Linked DNA regions of Homo sapiens: region 1 is linked to region 2. The links are contacts of gene promoters, found by promoter capture Hi-C in blood cells and fetal thymus (Javierre and others, 2016). All regions are on one chromosome and are shown on one strand. The core of a region is centred on a gene start or on the middle of the fragment in contact, and the rest is flanking DNA. Distances in the headings are between cores, read along the strand shown.

Evidence for each region. Contacts are between HindIII fragments. The CHiCAGO score rates a contact against its expected background, and 5 or more counts as called.
Region 1: a fragment that was not itself captured here is called in contact with the fragment with the promoter of TIMM17B in region 2 in 1 of 17 cell types (neutrophils); the score reaches 5.6 in neutrophils.

What each region holds. Positions count from the first base shown.
Region 1 is chrX:48,063,291-48,065,990 of GRCh38, forward strand. The region is part of intron 2 of ZNF630 (zinc finger protein 630); the gene reads right to left. All of the region lies in intron 1 of ZNF630-AS1 (ZNF630 antisense RNA 1), which reads left to right. Among named protein-coding and RNA genes, the nearest start is that of ZNF630, 7.0 kb to the right of the region's middle. The HindIII fragment of the contact is 2,537 bases long and covers 120-2,656 here.
Region 2 is chrX:48,896,384-48,899,083 of GRCh38, forward strand. It overlaps TIMM17B (translocase of inner mitochondrial membrane 17B), which reads right to left and starts at 1,385. Exons shown (of 6, transcript NM_001395498.1): 1 at 1,341-1,385; 2 at 376-475. The coding sequence starts at 1,366. PQBP1 (polyglutamine binding protein 1) reads left to right here and starts at 1,547. Exons shown (of 7, transcript NM_001032382.2): 1 at 1,547-1,699; 2 at 2,109-2,193. The coding sequence starts at 2,127. RefSeq lists enhancers at 901-1,050, 1,081-1,280, 1,571-1,940, 1,991-2,210. The HindIII fragment of the contact is 9,862 bases long and covers 1-2,700 here.

The sequences.
Region 1 (2,700 bases), core at 138-2,637, 830 kb before region 2:
ATGTGCACTTCAAAATCACTCATATACAAAAAGCTCCTGGGAAACCATAAGCAAAGACAAGGAAAGAGGGATTCACAGAGAAATACAATATGGAAAATAAATATGTGAAAAGATGCTGAAGCTTATTTAATCCCTATAGAAAAGCAAATGAAAATGAGATATAATGCTTAATCATAAAAACAACAAGAATGAAAAAAACAGATGATGGCTAATGGTGGCAGGAGGGAGGGGGAACCTTGGGAAACAGGTGGGCTTTCTTGTAAACAATTTGTGGCCACATGTTCAGCTGATTACACAGTATTGAAATACAATTTGGGCTGGGCAGGGTGGCTCATGCCTGTAATCCCAGCACTTTGGGAGGCCAAGGTGGGCAGATCACTTGAGGTCAGGAGTTCGAGACCAGCCTGCCCAACATGGTGAAACCCAGTCTCTACTAAAAATACAAAAATTAGCCGGGCGTGGTGGCAGGCACTTGTAATCCCTGCTACTCCGGAGGCTGAGGCATGAGAATCGCTTGAACCTGGGAGGCGGAGGTTACAGTGAGCTGAGATCATGCCACTGCACTCCAACCTGGGGGACAGAGTGAGACTTTGTCTCAAAAAAATATATATATATACGATTTGAAAAATACTCTTTAAATTTATAAGTCTGTGTGCCTCTGACCTAGCACACTCATGTCTGAGAATGTGGCCTACACAAATACTTCACAAATATAAAAAGATATCTTTATATGGTTGTTTTATTTGTGACTTCACTGCTTGAGAGGTCTGGTTAGGTCATGTACTAGCTGTGTGATCTCTGTGCCTCATTTTCTTCATCTGAAAAATGGGAATAACAATGGTACCTAGCACAGAGGGTTCCTGGGTGAATTAAATAAGTTAATCCCACGATATTTTATAATAGCAGTGCCTGGCACATGATAAGCACTGAGTAAATAGTAGCTATGATTCTTCTTATTATTATTACTACTGTATATAAAAGAAAAACTAGAAATAACTTTTTTACAGCCCATCAACAAGGTTCTGGTATCCTGCAAACATTAAATGGACATTTAATGGACATTAATTTGACAATGTACATCAGTAGACAATGTAGATCAGGACATAGCAAACTATAGCCTGCAGGCCAAATTTAGCCCATCATGTGTTTTTCAATGGCCCACAAGCTAAACTGGTTTTACACGTTTTCTTTTGAGACAGTCTTGCTCTATCAGCCAAGCTGGAGTACAGTGGAACAGTCTTGATTCACTGCAACCTCCTCCTCCCGGGCTCAAGTGATTCTCCTACATCAGCCTCCTGAGTAGCTGGGACCACAGGCGCATGCCACCATGCCTGGTTAATTTTTGTATTTTTTTGTAGAGATGCGGTTTCGCCATGCTGCCCAGGCTGGTCTAGAACTCCTGAGCTCAAGCAATCCGCCCACCTTGGCCTCCCAAAGTGCTGGGATTATAGGCGTGAATAGCTAGCTGTATCTGGTCTGGTTTTTACATTTTTAATGATTGAAAAAAAAGTCAAAAGAAGAATATTTTATGACACATGAAAATTATATGAAATCCAACCTTCAGCATCCATAAATAAAGTGTTATTGAATCACAGCCAGGCTCATTGGTTTACATATTGTCAATAGCTGCTTTCTACCTAAAACAGCAGATTTGAATAGTTGCAACAGGGGCCGTATGGCCCACAAAGCCTCAGATACTTCGATCTGTCCCTCTACAGAAAAAGTTTGCTGACCCCTGACTTAGAGGAACTGGACAAATTACTTGAAAATTACAATTTACCAAACCAGACATAAAAAGAAATAGAAAATCTGAATGGTAGTATATCTTTTAAATAAATTGAATATGTAATTTAAAACCTTCCCACAAAGAAAACTCCATACCCTGATGGCTTCACTGGGGAGCTCTTTCAAACATTTAAGAAGGAAATAGGCCGGGCGCAGTGGCTCATGCCTGTAATCCCAACACTTTGGGAGGCCGAGGTGGGTGGATCACCTGAGGCCAGGAATTCGAGACCAGCCTGCCCAACATGGTGAAACCCCATCTCTACTAAAAATACAAAAGTTAGCCTGGGAGGTCAAGGCTGCAGTGAGGCAAGATAGTGCCACTGCACTCTAGCCTGGGCAACTGGGGTGAAACCCGGTCTCAAAAAAAAAGAAAGAAAGAAAGAGAGAGAGAGAGAGAGAGAGAGGGAGGGAGGGAGGGAGGGAGGAAGGAAGGAAGGAAGGCAGGCAGGCACTTGTAATCCCAGCTACTTGGTGGCGGGCACTTGTAATCCCAGCTACTTGGGAGACTGAGGCAGGAGAATCGCTTGAACCTGGGAGGCAGAGGTTGCAATGAGCGGATATCGTGCCATTGCACTCCAGCCTGGGCGACAAGAGTGAAACTCCATCTCAAAAAAAAAAAAAATTTAAGATGGAAATAGTACCAATATTACCCAAATTTTCCCAGAGAATATAAAGAGAATACTTTCCAACATGAGGCCAATGTAACATGATACCAAAAGGTGACAGAAACAATAGAAGAAAGTAAAATTACAGGCCCTTATGTCTTATGAACACAGTAGTATAAACCCTAAACAAAATATTAACAAGGGATTGGCTAGATCATGATGATGATGACGATAGGAGTAGGTGGGGATGAAAGATAGATAAAACAAGCTTGGTTATCAGTTGATAATATTTGCAGATGGGTAATTACAA
Region 2 (2,700 bases), core at 135-2,634:
CAGGAGGCAGAGGTTGCAGTGAGCCAAGAGCGTGCCACTGCACTCTAGCCTGGGCAACAGAGCAAGACTGTCTCAAAAAAAAAAAAAACTGTCTGGCTTTGCACATACATTTAAAATTTGGTGATGACTCTTTGAACGACACAGCATTTCCACAGAGGAGCTCCAGTTGGGTGGGGTGGAGGGTGGAAGACAGAGGCCATGTTTGCAATCCCTACAAAATCCCAGATACAGGAGCCAGGCTCGGCACATAGTAGGTGAGTGGGCACCAGAATGAATAAGTGCACGTGACTGGCAGCTCCAAGCAGTTTTCAGAGCAGCCTCCCTTGTGGGCAAGATAGCTAACCCCACACCAACCCAGGGAAGGCCTGGACTCACAACAGGGGCATTGCGGAAACCCTTGATGGCCTGGAAGACTCCGCCACCGATGACACCCATAGTGAAGGCTCCACCGCAATCATCCACAATTCGCCATGGGCTGCAAGCAGGAAGGGAAGGACGGGGTTAATGTGAGCCCTCCCCCAGGTCCTGTCACACGAACTCTTTTCTAACTGGGAGAAACCAAGTCACCAGAATGGGAAGTTCCTAAGTAGGAACAAACACTTCAGATAATAATGAGCTAGTTCTGTCACGCTTTTTCCACACACCCCCCCATTAAAGCGAGAAATGGGGCAAAGGGGGAGAAATATTAGTCTTCGCCCTGTCTACCAACCAAGGAATCAGCCAACGGTTTTACTGTGATCAAAGATTAAATGAATTGGCACACGCAGAGTTGACGTTTCAATAAGCGACATAGGCGTGTTAACTAGCCAAGACAGACTGTCAGCAAAGCAGGACCGCGTCGCACCCCTTCTCCGACGGTGAGCCCGTCCAACCATGCCCCGCCCCTTTTCAATCCGGCACAACTGGGAAAAACCAAGAGCGACCGCGGGAAGCATCCACCGTCCCCGCCGGCCCTCAACAGGTTCATCCGTGCCCCGCCCCCCACTGACAAAGGCGACCTGGGAAAAACCACTGGCGGCAACTCTGGGGATTTCCGGTCAACACCGTACCACCCCTAGCCGGGATGGATCGTCCAGCGTGTCTTTTTTCGTTAACAGGGCTAGGAGATTACGAAGTCAGGAGAAACATGGCGTGGTTCGGCCTTCGCCGCACCTTCTCTGGTTGTGGCCCCTCATAACGGAGCCCGAATGACAGGAACCGAGTGGGGGTAGCGGGAGATACGTTAAGAGTCCCCCGAGTCTGGTACATGGCTCTGTGCGGCCGATGCCTCCCCCGCCCGACCCCCACGGCTGGCCTTGGCGTCGCAGCAATATTCCGGATGCCTGTGCCCATTGCCGTACCAGGGCTCCCGAGCGTACTCCTCCATGGCGCTGGCGTCTGGCCGCGCAGTCAGGCCACGCCCCCAGCGTAGACGCACACCGGCGTCGGAGCTTTCCGCCTATTACCGGGCAGCGATTGGGTCGCTATACCGCATGTCACGCCAAGGACGCACTCTCATTGGCCAATCGAGTTTCTGCCATTTGTTCATTGCCTCCTGAGCGTAGTCCAGTTACTTTCAGGCTCGGGGAGTGAAGGCCTCGTTGAGAGAAGGTCTCATTCGGTGTTTTGGGAAGAGAGTCGTGTGGGCCCAGGTATCGTAGCGGCGACACGAGAGAGACGGGCGGTGTGACAGCCTTCCACTACCTGCACGAGTGTATTGGTAACGTTGGGGTGGGTGCACTCTTTTGGAGCTGGAGGAAGTGCTGCCCTCTGCTCCCCCATCCCAGCGCTTTGGTTTCTCCCACCCGGCAGTCATGGGGACGCTGGATGAGCCCATTTCTGAAGTGCGGAGGGGCCGGGCTTCTTAGGCTGTGGGCGGAGCCTGGGCCTGGGAGAGGAACAGGGCCCTGGAGCACCTGGTTTCGGGGACAGTAGGGTTGGTGGGAGTTGCGATGATATTGCCACCTACCTCTTACATCTTTTAGTGCGTATGTTCTGTCCACCCAGCTACTGGTTCATTTGAGTAGATCGGAGTCAGATGAGTACATGTTTACGGGAGGCGCTTGGTTACGGGATCCAGATAGGAATCTTTATCTGAGCTGCTTGTCAGTTTGTTCGTCTGTCCCTAGGTCTGTCTGCTATCAGCTATGCCGCTGCCCGTTGCGCTGCAGACCCGCTTGGCCAAGAGAGGCATCCTCAAACATCTGGAGCCTGGTGAGACAGCTAAAAGCAGATGGTCCTAACACGTGCCAGCCTCGACAGGCACTTTTGTTGTTGATACTGACGCTTGATACCTAGCATGGGCCAACTGTGCACCAAGCAATGGGGTGGCAGGCATTTTTCGTTGTTAACAATGTGGATTCCTGACATCCATCCCTACCGCGTGTCAAGTGGAGGGGGTTGGGGGAATAGATATTTCATTCTTTTTTTTTTTTTTTTTTTTTTTTTTTTTTTTTTTTTTTGAGGCAGAGTCTTATTGTGCACCCAGGCTGGAGTGCAGTGGCGCGATCTCGGCTCACTAAAACCTCCGCCTTCCAGGTTCAAGCGATTCTCCTGCCTTAACTTCCCGAGTAGTTGGGACTACAGGCACGCCCCGCCCCACCACACCTGGCAATTTTTTTTTTTTTTTTTTTGAGACAGAGTCTCGGTCTGTCGCCCAGGCTGGAGTGCTGTGGCGTGATCTCGTCTCACTGCAACCTCCGCCTCCCGGGCTCAAGCGAT